3 separate regions of the Homo sapiens genome follow, and all the other regions are linked to region 2. Evidence: promoter capture Hi-C in 16 types of primary human blood cells and fetal thymus (Javierre and others, 2016). All regions are on one chromosome and are shown on one strand. The core of a region is centred on a gene start or on the middle of the fragment in contact, and the rest is flanking DNA. Distances in the headings are between cores, read along the strand shown.

What was found. Contacts are between HindIII fragments. The CHiCAGO score rates a contact against its expected background, and 5 or more counts as called.
Region 1: the fragment with the promoter of CCDC66 here is called in contact with the fragment with the promoter of SETD5 in region 2 in 1 of 17 cell types (naive CD8 T cells); the score reaches 8.2 in naive CD8 T cells.
Region 3: a contact is called between a fragment that was not itself captured here and the fragment with the promoter of SETD5 in region 2, in 1 of 17 cell types (total B cells). The highest score is 6.4, in total B cells.

The regions. Positions count from the first base shown.
Region 1 is chr3:56,554,823-56,558,658 of GRCh38, reverse strand. It overlaps CCDC66 (coiled-coil domain containing 66), which reads right to left and starts at 1,484. Exons shown (of 18, transcript NM_001141947.3): 1 at 1,406-1,484. The coding sequence starts at 1,416. RefSeq lists enhancers at 1,069-1,228, 697-1,368, 1,369-2,041. The HindIII fragment of the contact is 1,896 bases long and covers 1-1,698 here.
Region 2 is chr3:9,396,251-9,400,476 of GRCh38, reverse strand. It overlaps SETD5 (SET domain containing 5), which reads right to left and starts at 2,862. Exons shown (of 23, transcript NM_001080517.3): 1 at 2,500-2,862. It overlaps THUMPD3-AS1 (THUMPD3 antisense RNA 1), which reads left to right and starts at 3,854. Exons shown (of 4, transcript NR_132781.1): 1 at 3,854-3,917. RefSeq lists an enhancer at 1,995-2,044 and a silencer at 2,655-3,964. The HindIII fragment of the contact is 6,018 bases long and covers 814-4,226 here.
Region 3 is chr3:53,343,702-53,347,969 of GRCh38, reverse strand. DCP1A (decapping mRNA 1A) reads left to right here and starts at 427. Exons shown (of 10, transcript NM_018403.7): 1 at 427-587; 2 at 3,028-3,068. The coding sequence starts at 453. RefSeq lists enhancers at 1-702, 238-828, 829-1,419. The HindIII fragment of the contact is 990 bases long and covers 1,376-2,365 here.

The DNA.
Region 1 (3,836 bases), core at 235-2,734, about 47 Mb before region 2:
GAAAATTCTTGAAACTCTTCAATACTACAAGCATTGTTATCATTAACCTGAAATCTCATTTTGTTATTGGTAAACTATAAATTAAGTTATCATACCACCATTTTTTAATAATGCTGTTACCAAAACTCCTCACATAAGTTAAAGGAACAAGATATATTTAACCGCCATTCATTAGTTTCATAATGAACTCATGACTAAAACATTCTATGGAGTGCTGGAGCATCGATATGACTACTAACAATGCCATCAAGGTTAGTAACTGCTTGAGCAAAGAGTACCACTTTCAATATTTCAAATAATACATAGTGATATTTAGTATGGTGCTTTATACGTGCATATCAGAAGCAAAGGCATAAAGTAACAGTAGCCACTGCCAACAAAACTTGAACGTCTGTTAAGGTCCTAAAACTCCACTGAGAACAAAAATGGCAGCCCATACATACAGTCCATAATTCAGAGAGAGAAAATTAAATCCAGCAAGCCAGTCAAGGGAGAGAGAGGCTGGGAAAGGTCTGATTAGGAATGCGAAATTTGCGGTGTTGCTCAGGTAGGGGAAATCAAATTACCTCACCTTAACTATTAAAGGTAAAACACTGGAAAGAATAGGTTTTACGGCTTTCCTTATTGTAGGGTTATGAACAGTTCGTGTTTATGTTGGTGAAACGTCACCAAGAAAGAAAAGAGCTTCAATGGTAAAGTACCTTCAATGACGCACTGCACTGTAATCTCCTTAAGGGACACACTATCTTATTTATTTCCATATCCCCAGATTCTAAAACATAATAACATTTGCTGAACGATGTGTAGTTAGGTCTGAGTTTGGTGGCTTCTCATCTTCTCAAAATATCAAACTTGCGAGTGATGAAGACCATGCACCAGCCCTTTTTATTTATTCACCCCTACTTAAGGAGCGCCTACTAGGTGTTAGGCACTGGTACTACATCGATTTCTTGAGAAGCCTGGTTCCCCGCCTCGTGGGCCTAAAACGAATTTGGGCGTTTCAACATTCTGCAAGACTCCAAAAACAAGGTGGCGAAGAACCCGGGGCATGGGCCAGGAGTCCTCCCCAGGAGCCGCCACGCTTCCTCTAACTGTCTCGTCATTTCTCTCCTTTCCTCCTCACCTCTCTTCCCTCCTCATCCTGAGGTAAATAAGGGACCGAAAGGGGATCACTGGCAGTTTTAATGCTAGTCATTAAGTGAAAACGTAAGGTCTGTGGAGTCGCTAAGGGCCGACCCATCTGCCTCGATCTTCTACCCGAGAACTGGGCTCTGCCCCTCTCGGCGGCGCAGGTTGGGAACGTTCTCCAGTAAAGACTCCAAGGGACAACCCAGACACACATGCCTCCCTCTCCGCTGACGACCACCTTGCTTACCCCAGCTTACCCCAGCTTACCCCTGCTTACCCCAAGTTCATGGCCTGACCTCGCACTCTCTCCACAGAACGCTCAAGCCCCTTGTGTACGTCGGTTGCCGCCGCCGCTCAGCAAGCGCTACGCCAATTGGATATAGGGGTGCCGGCGAGCTGAGCAAGTGGACCAATCAGGGTGGGGCATGCTGGCGGGTGCGCTGAGCTGGGCCGGGGCTCCCGCGGGGACGGTTGCGTATGCCGTTTGTTCCCCTTTTGTGCCCCGTTTGTGCCGTTTGTTCCCCTACGCACAGCGGAATTTGGCCTGACCCGGCTTATGAGTCTAAAGCTTCGGTGGCGGAGACCTGCGCTTCTCGCAATTGTAGCCTTCCAAAGCGCGTACACAGACACACACACACACACACACACACACACACACACACACACACACACACACACACACACACACCTTTTTGGGGTCACCATTTGCAAGTAAGTTACAGACATTGTAACACTTAACCCTTTAACATTGCAGACATTGTAACACTTAACCCTTTAACATTGCAGCATGTATCTCCTAAGAATAGATGTTCTGCTACATAACCGCAGTACAATTATTATACCTAAGATCATTAATTTCATAATAATTCTCTTCCCGATTTAATTTCCCCCACTTGTCCTAAGAATATCTTATAGGCATTTTATTTAGAAAGCAAGAGCCAATCGCGCCACTGCATTCCAGCAGCTTGGGCGACAGAGTGAGACTCCGTCTCAAAAAAAAAAAAAAAAAATGCAAGAGCCGATCAAGGATCACACATTACATTTGGTTGTTAAGTATCTTTGCACACACTCTTTCCAGACAAAAACAATGAAAGGTATTAATTATTAAATGCCTGACAAACCTTTACTTTTTTATTTTTTATTGTTGTAATATGTGTGTTAAAATTTGCTATTTTTAGCCATTTTCAAGTGACAATTCCATGATACAATGTTGTGGAATACGCCAGTATATTTTTCCAAAAGCTTTTTAGTACCCCCAAATAAAAATTCTGTACCCATTAAGCAACAACTTCCCATTTTCCTCTCCCCTCAATCCTAAGAAACCTCTAATCTTATTTCTGTCTCTAGGAATTTGCCTATTATAGATACTTCATGTCATAAAAGTGGAATCATACAATATTTGTCCTTTTGTGTCTTCTCTCAAGTAACATAATGTATTCAAGGTGCATCCATGTTGTAGGATGTATCAGAGCTTCATATCTGTTTATGATTGAATAGTATTCCATTCTATGTATATATATACCACAATTCGTTTACTCATTCATCCATTAATAGACATTTGGGTTGTTTCCATCTTTTAGTTATTGTGAATAATGCTGTAGTGAACACTGATGTACAAGTATCTGTTTGAATCCCTATTTTCAATTTTCTTGGTATACACCTAAGAGTGGAATTACTGGGTCACATGGTAATTCTATGGTTAACTTTTCGAGAAACTGCCAAACTGTTTTCATAACAGTTGCAGCATCTTACATTTCTGCCAGCAATGTATATGAGGTTCTAATTTCTTCACCCCAACACTTGCTTTTTCTTTTTCTTTTCTTTCTTTTTTTTTTTTTTTTAGAGACAGGGTTTTGCTCTGTCACCCAGGCCGCCTACATTGGTACGAACATAACACTGTAACCTCGAACTCCTGGTCTTAAATGATCCTCCTGTCTCAGCCTCCCAAGTAGCTAGGGCTACAGGCATGCACCACTACGCCTGGTTAATTTTTAAAAAAATTTTTGTAGAGACAGAGTCTGTTTACGTTGCCCAGGCTGGTCTCAAACTCCTGGCCTCAAGTAGTCCTCCCACCTCAGACTCCCAAAGTGCTGGGATTATAGGCGTGAGCCTGTAGCCAGAATGATTTCTAAAATGTGAATCTGCTTAATTCACTCTGCTTCTTAAAATCTCTCAATATAGGAGAACGTCCTTAACTTGATAAGCAATATCTACAAAAAATCTCCTAGAGACCGGGTGTGGTGGCTTATGCCTGTAATTGCAGCACTTTGGAAGGCCAAGGCAGGAGGATTGCTTGAGTGTAGGAGTTCGAGACCAGCCTGGGCAACATGGTGAGACTCTATCTCTATTTTTTAAAAAAATCCTGTAGAGCCCAATATCACACTTAACAGTGAAAAAGTGCAACTTTTCCACTGAGATTGGGAACAAGAGCAAGGCAAGAATGTCTCTTCTTATCACTGCTTTTCAACATCACACTGGAAGTCTGAGCTAATCCTAAGACTTAGCCTTAGTCCTAGCTAAGACAAGAAAAAGAAATAAGTATACAGACTGGGAAGAAAGAAAGAAAACTTTGTTTGCAGATGACATGATTGTCTATGTAGAAAATCTGAAAGAAGCCACAAAAAATCCTCCTGGAATTAATAAGTGAGTATAGTGGCATTGCAGAATGCAAGGTTAATACACAAAAGCCAATTGCTTTCCTGTATGTC
Region 2 (4,226 bases), core at 1,613-4,112:
GACACATAACAAAATAATAAGAATTGATTCTATGATTAAAGAGATGGAGGAAGGCATGATATGTGAGCTGCAGGAAAAAATTCCTGTTATTTTCTTCCTATTGTGGTTATCAGAAAGATTCTTAAAATTATTACTTGGGTTTTTAAACTGATTGAAAAATTAAAACTCTAATGGAACTTTTAGTCCTATCCAAGCACAAATGTCTAGATAAAAAACAAAAATCTGCCAAAAAACAAAAATCAAATCAAACAAACAAAAAAAGAAAGGCTTTAACCATGATCCAGTTTCCAGATGCCAATATCCATAAATGGGTAGGAGATTATGAATTACTAATTCCCATCTCCCCACCAATAAAAAGCAAACCAGCTCAGCAGTGAAAATTCCCAGAAAAGCAAGGTTTCTTCTTAGTCCTGAAGCAGCCATCGCCTAAGTGCTGCTCCCTGCAGCCAGCAGCATTAATGGACGCTGCACTGCTGTCCTTCCCTGGAGACAGCAGCCAGCACTACTCAAGCTTCTCACGTAGCAACCAGAGCTCCAGAGCCAGCAGCTGCTGCTGCCTTGTATACTCACCCCTGTGATCCAACCCAAAGGAACAACCTTCTCTTTACCCCACCCCCACTCCTTACACACACTTTTTTTTTTTTTTTTTGGACCAGTGCTCCATGCCAGAAGGGCTGGAATTATGCTTTTAAGAAAGAAACAATCCTAAGGTCACCCTTTTAAACCAAGGCCTTTTATTAGAAAAATCAACATTTACCAAATTCTAAATATCCATTTTAATTAAGCCAGCAGTTTAGGAGTGAAGATTAAGCTTTGGTCTTTTGAAAGCCAATTTCCCAAGCACTCTACAATCTAATTTAAATTTGCAGCTAGAAACAGAGCCTTGTGTCATGTCCTACCAAAGGGCATAATTCATTTTTCTACACATAATGACAGTCTGAGTAAACCTTAAAGACTCTAATCCCATAACAGGCCAGAATTTTTGGCTACAGAAGAGAACTAATGATCCTGAGAAAACTGGAAGAAATCCAATAGAAAAAAAAAAGCCCTACGTCCTCTATGGAGCCCAGAAACCTCTGATTACGTGGGTATTCTCTGCTTTAGTCCTAGCTCAGATCCCACACATCTAAAATTACCACTTAGAACTTTCTGTGACCTAAAAACATTAATAATATAAAATTAACAACCAAAAAATAATTTCAAATAGGGAGTACACACTCTCCTAAAAAGCTCAGCACACTCCACTCAGCTGGATCCTCCCCAATCACAAGTATAGCTATGTAACATCTGTCCAACAAAGAAATGTAAATATGACCTTGGTCACAAATATGTCATCTAAAAACTTGTTTAGTCAACTGATGAAGGTAATTAGCACAGAACTTGGGGATTCGTTCAGTACCTATGTGCAGGAAGGAAACTGGAGAAATGAACTTAAATATAGACAAAGCCCAGTGGAACCCAGAGGTCTGGGAAAGAAATGAGTTACCGGTGAATACATTGCACAAGTAACATGAGAAAGCAGAAAATGCAGGTCATACACGCACCCCTGACCCAGACCAGCAGAGCTGACTGCAGCATCCATATCCAAGAGAAAGACCACTGACGCCCAAGAAGTGAGACAAGCAAGGACTCTATAGAATCAATTAGCATAGAAGGGGCTTTCCCAACAGTTTAACTTTCCCTCTCATGCGATTTACCTACTTGAACCAGGGCTCTTTCCTACACTCCTCTTCACATTCCCGACTTACACGCAGAGGGAAAGAGAATTCATAAAGGGAATATTTTTCTGCCTTTGAAGATATTCTCACAAGATCGTTCTCCACGCCCAAGGCAAGTAAAACGACACAATCTGGCTCAACTCCAGGCTCGAACCCTACACATTCAACGAGGCTATCTCAGACACGCTGTGGCACACGCCACGGGGAGCCAGAGAACGTGTGGTGGGGGTGGCGAAGGTAATGCCTTTGGGAAGCAGCCATCTGAGGTGGGAAGCCAGAAAACGAGAGGGAAGGCGTCCAGGAAGATTACGGAGGGGAGATCGCGGCCCCCAGAGCGATCAGAGTTGTCTGTCACAAGGCCGCGAGAACGGGGGTAGGGAGTGGGGGATCGGGGAGAGAAAAAAAGTATGCCTGTGTATTTCGAGCGGAGGGCAGCAAGAGGCCTCTCCTCAAGGGAAAGGTAAACGTGGAGTAGGCAGTTCCCAGGAAAGGGGGTGAAGAGGCGTTGGGGGAGGGGAAGCGTCCTGACCCAGGAAAAACATGAAAGGGGGAGTTGGGTCGCCTAGATTAGAGGGGGATCTCTCTCCCTGGGAAAATGGGGTGTTGCAACGGTGTGTGCAAGGCGGCGAGGGGGGTGAGAAGTGGCAGCATCCTCCTAAGAGCTTGGGGAGGGCCAGGCCCACGACCCAAGGAGAGCGAGCGCGGGGAGACGGAGGAGGTGACCCTTCCCTCCCCTGGGGCCCGATCGTGAGGTTCGGTCTCTTTTCTGTCGGACCCTTACCTTGTCCCAGGCGCTGCCGGGGCCTGGGCCCGGGCTGCGGCGCACGGCACTCCCGGGAGGCGGCAGGACTCGAGTTAGGCCCAACGCGGCGCCACGGCGTTTCCTGGCCGGGAATGGCCCGTACCCGTGAGGTGGGGGTGGGGGGCAGAAAGGCGGAGCGAGCCAAAGGCGGGGAGGGGGGGCAGGGCCAGGGAAAGAGGGGGGCCGGCACTACTGTGTTGGCGGACTGGCGGGACTGGGGCTGCGTGAGTCTCTGAGCGCAGGCGGGCGGCGGCCGCCCCTCCCCCGGCAGCGGCGGCGGCGGCGGCGGCGGCGGCGGCGGCGGCAGCTCACTCAGCCCGCTGCCCGAGCGGAAACGCCACTGACCGCACGGGGATTCCCAGCGCCGGCGCCAGGGGCACCCGGGACACGCCCCCTCCCGCCGCGCCATTGGCCTCTCCGCCCACCGCCCCGCACCCATTGGCCCACTCGCCGCCAATCAGCGGAAGCCGCCGGGGCCGCCTAGAGAAGAGGCTGTGCTTCGGCGCTCCGGCTCCTCAGAGAGCCTCGGCTAGGTAGGGGAGCGGAACTCTGGTGGGAGGGGAGGTGCGGTACACTGGGGGGATGGGTGGCTAGGGGGGCCGTCTGGTGGCTTGCGGGGGTTGCCTTTCCCGTGGGAAGTCGGGAACATAATGTTTGTTACGTTGGGAGGGAAAGGGGTGGCTGGATGCAGGCGGGAGGGAGGCCCGCCCTGCGGCAACCGGAGGGGGAGGGAGAAGGGAGCGGAAAATGCTCGAAACCGGACGGAGCCATTGCTCTCGCAGAGGGAGGAGCGCTTCCGGCTAGCCTCTTGTCGCCGATTGGCCGTTTCTCCTCCCGCCGTGTGTGAAAACACAAATGGCGTATTCTGGTTGGAGTAAAGCTCCTGTCAGTTACGCCGTCGGGAGTACGCAGCCGCTTAGCGACTCTCGCGTTGCCCCCTGGGTGGGGCGGGTAGGTAGGTGGGGTGTAGAGATGCTGGGTGTGCGGGCGCGGCCGGCCTCCTGCGGCGGGAGGGGAGGGTCAGTGAAATCGGCTCTGGCGCGGGCGTCCTCCCACCCTCCCCTTCCTTCGGGGGAGTCGGTTTACCCGCCGCCTGCTTGTCTTCGACACCTGATTGGCTGTCGAAGCTGTGGGACCGGGCCCTTGCTACTGGCTCGAGTCTCACATGAGCGAAACCACTGCGCGGGGCGCGGGGGTGGCGGGGAGGCGGGCGTTGGTACGGTCCTCCCCGAGGCCGAGCGCCGCAGTGTCTGGCCCCGCGCCCCTGCGCAACGTGGCAGGAAGCGCGCGCTGGAGGCGGGGGCGGGCTGCCGGCCGAGACTTCTGGATGGCGGCGGCCGCGGCTCCGCCCCGGGTTCCCACCGCCTGAAGGGCGAGACAAGCCCGACCTGCTACAGGCACTCGTGGGGGTGGGGGAGGAGCGGGGGTCGGTCCGGCTGGTTTGTGGGTGGGAGGCGCTTGTTCTCCAAAAACCGGCGCGAGCTGCAATCCTGAGGGAGCTGCGGTGGAGGAGGTGGAGAGAAGGCCGCACCCTTCTGGGCAGGGGGAGGGGAGTGCCGCAATACCTTTATGGGAGTTCTCTGCTGCCTCCCGTCTTGTAAGGACCGCCCTGGGCCTGGAAGAAGCCCTCCCTCCTTTCCTCCTCGCGTGATCTCGTCATCGCCTCCATGTCGAGTCGCTTCTCGATTATGGGCGGGATTCTTTTG
Region 3 (4,268 bases), core at 621-3,120, about 44 Mb before region 2:
ACGGGCCCGGTAGAGTCCCGCATTTCCACATTCCACAGACATGTTTTCCTTCTGTGGCCCCGGGCCCTGCCAGACAGCGCACCGCGAGGCCGGCACTTCGGCGGTCTCCAACCTTTGCCTGGAAAGAGCTCGGCAGGCGAGCTAGAGGCCAGATCCCAGGACCCAGTCGTTTTAGCTCAGGGAAAGGAAGCGCCGGAGCTCCAGCCTGCAAGCTCCACTACGCAGCCTTGGACACCGCCCACATCGTAGGGCCGCGGACCCTGACAACGCCGGAACCCGGCGCCCGGAGCGTGCGCGCGGCGGACCAGAATGGCTGACGTACCGCCCTGCCGCGAGGCCCGCGTAGAGGCGGAAGTTGAGGGGACTGACGCAGATGGGGGAATTTTGCCTCGATGGCACTTTCCTGTCCGCGACTCCGCCCCCACCAGAGGGGCTAGGCTCTGGGATTCAAGATGGAGGCGCTGAGTCGAGCTGGGCAGGAGATGAGCCTAGCGGCCCTGAAGCAACACGACCCCTATATCACCAGCATCGCAGACCTCACGGGCCAGGTCGCTCTGTACACCTTCTGCCCCAAGGCCAACCAGTGGGTGAGTGCCGCCTGGCCCTGAGGACGGCCACCCGGCCGCTGCCGTCTCTTAAAGGGGCCGCGCGGGTTACTGTGGGGTGGGGGGGCACACTAAGAGGCCAGGGCGGTGGAGACGAGGCCAGGGTCTGGCCAAGAGCCTAGCCAGAGCCTGAGGGGTGTCGGGTCCGCTTGGGATTGGGGGATAGGAGTGAGAGAAGTGGCTCGAGACATCCCAAGGAAAAGCCAGTGGAGGGGAGGATTGGAGCAGGATCAGTCCCTTGGCGTCGGGTCTGGGGACGTGGGCGACCTGCCTTCTTTGCAGATACATTGGGAGTTATAAGACCGGTGGGGTCAAAAGGGTGCCTGAAAGCTTGTGTTTGAGGCTTTGCGGATTATTAGATAAATTATATGTACATTATCTATAAAATAAACACTCCTCCTCTCCCCCTGGCAAACGTAAATGAGAGCCCCTGTCGCAGAGGTCATTTGGGTTTAAAGTTTAAAATCCAATTAGTTTCGATTCTTGGAAGGAGGGGGTGGGTGGGTCCGGCTTTAATCGAACTACACAGAGTTTCGGAAAAGATTCCAAGGCACTTAGGAAAAGGGCTTCCGTGTTCACTGGATCCCCGAAGACCTTTGTACAAACAAGAGAGACCCTGTAAATGTGTTTTGTTCCATCTATGATGCTGGTGATGTCATCTCTGAATGCTCCCCTCGGACTCAGTACTTTCTGGCTTTCGTGCACTGGGGAGGGTCCGAAAAGTCACATTCAGTGTGTTCACTGATTCTTGTTAGCCCCTGCTTGAAGCTTTGTTAGTTGTTTAAAAAGCATAATTTCCCACTTTCTTGTAATTGACCCTTCCTAATTAACTCATTCAGCTACAGGCTTTACACTTAGAAAGTAATACGTAAATGCTTGTTGGATTGAATTCACCAATGACTGGAGTTCACATTTCAATAAGATACGAAATCCTTAAACTGACAGAACTCTGGAAGATGACCGTAGTATGTCGTTTACCCTATAATACAGTTGCATAGATTATATTTATCAGTAATTTATCGAAAATCATTTGGCATTTATGAACAGTTAATTCAGATGAAGAGTTTTTATAATCACGTTGTTTATCTTTGCCTCCTGGAAGAGAAGGAGATATGGGAAGCCACAAGGAATAAAATTGTAGATTGTTTTTTAAATGTAGCTATTTTAGACATTGCCTTAGTTTGAAATTTTATGAATCTTTTTTCTTTTCTTGGCCTATATATAAATTTTGAAATATGGATTGCCGACAAATGGTGAAGACTTGGGGCTAGAGTTTTCCTAGTTTTTCACAAAGGCTTTCAATATTTTAAAATTTTACATTGTGGAGTTCTGTTTTAAATATGAAATACAAGCTATAATAACCTGAATTGAAAAATAAGCTGCTACTGTTTATTTGGATCCTGGCACATAGAGCATGACAAAAATCTTTTCCCTCTTTATTATTTTACAGTGAGTTGTAACTTTGCATGATGTTTTTTGGTGGGCAAATTTTCTTTTACTGTAAGACAGTTGATTACCAGTTTCTTATAGTAATAACCTAACATTTTAAAGGTAAGAAAAAGCCTCTGAATCCTTAGGAAGGAAAATAATGATATTTAAGCTAGGGTAGTACTTCTGGAAGAAATCGAGATGATCAATTTTCTAAATTTTTTAATCCCAACACATTCAATATATGACTAACATTTAAAATGTTAATAATGCGTTGATTACAGTAAAATATTTAGGTCCATTGTAGGCTGTAAATTGCAGACTAATAAGCTTATTTATTTTTTAAAAAACACTGAACTGTGTTTAAAACCTAAATACACTCTTGTCACAGAAAATGAACTATGGTAAAGGCCTCCAATAATTACACTGAGGCAGGGTATACTTTCAGTATTCAAGATTCTTCAAGTTCTAAAAATAACAAGCTGATTTTGTTTGGTAGTAATTCTTAACCACAAAATTTGCTAGTTGTCAAAATGTACGAAAACTCCCTAGTGATGAAACAAAGTATCCTATAAGAAAGTTTCATTCCTTTCCTTTTTTAAAATTAACTTGGATAAACTTAAAAGAGAAGAAATTGCAGTATACAGGACCTTAGCTTTAAAGTTAAGAAATCTGGCTAAAATATTTTAGCTATAAAAAGTGAAGGTTTATTCTATGATTTTCTCCTTTACTAATTAAAAAAGAAAAATACTGCAGATACAGATATGTTGCTGGATTAAATATTGCATATGCTTATGCACTGAAAGGATACATTAGAAATGGTAACCACAATTTGTGGAATGAGAGGGAGACTTTACCTGTTCAAAAGTGGTTAATTTTATAATAGATGAAATGAAACAAGTTGATCTTAAACGTGAAGCATTACTTCTCCATGGGGACTATTTGGGGTCTGATTATGGGGAAAAAAAACTAATTGAGTCATTGTCTTTCATAGGAGAAGACTGATATAGAAGGGACCTTATTCGTATATCGAAGGTAAGTTTTTAAAATATGTATATTTGTTTTTAACAGTCTAGTGGTGAACAATGTGAAACGGTTCAATTCTCTTGTACATTTGTCTTTGGAACCGTCCTGCTAGTACCCTTCAAGTTTTCATCTTTCCCTAGCTGTGAAATCTTAACCAGGTTCTTTCTTTTCTCTGAGCCTTTCTGTGATTCAGAATAAACTGAACTAGAATTTATATTACCAGCCTAGCAAAGCAATTTCAAAATAATAATGATTGAGTCTAAAATGGATGCCTGCGTCTCTCTTCCTACCCCCATATTAGAAAGAAAAAGAAAGATATATATTTGGGGAAAAGACAATACATAGACTGGCTCTGTAAAATAATGTTATTGAGAGGTCGATCCCTCTGTTCTTTCATTACTACATGAGTGGTTGTCTTTTATGACTGGTTCTGTCCTCTTTCCCAACCCACAGAAGTTCTGGATTATGTACAGTGTCTTATTTGAGAGTTCTTTAGAAAGCTTGGATTATTCATGATGGCGTATTTTTTATTTTTGACTTATTCAAAAATTCATTATCTTTAAGATTGGTTTGCAAATTGCAACTTTTTTGTTAGGCAGCTTTTGGGGCCTAAAGACAACTGACAGTATATGATAGTCATGGGGTACTTGTTTTCCTGGATTCCTCTAAGGTCTTAACTCTTACAAGGGCAGGTTCCTTCCCTTGTTTTCTAAAGCTTAGGGAGTCAGCAGGAGTTATTACTGATATCTGGTCTTTTCCCTTTTTTTTTTGTATTGAGTTGCTTCATAAGGATTGCCTTTCTCCATTGATGCCAATTTAAAAGAATTTGTCAAATACTCTTCTAAATTTTGATACAAAGCTTTGAGATCTCGTCTAAATGCACTCATTTTTTTCTTCTTTTAAGTGTAATTCTTTGATATTTGTACACCAAGCTCTTTTTTCTTAGACACTTTCTTTGTTCCCTGCTATTCATCTTTCTGCTTTTAAAAAGGAAGGGATCGGCCGGGTGCAGTGGCTCACGCCTGTAATCCCAGCACTTTGGGAGGCCGAGGTGGGCGGATCACGAGGTCAGGAGATCAAGACCATCCTGGCTAACACGGTGAAACCCTGTCTCTACTAAAAATACAAAAAATTAGCTGGGCATGGTGGCAGGCACCTGTAGTCCCAGCTACTTGAGAGGCTGAGGCAGGAGAATATCGTGAACCCAGG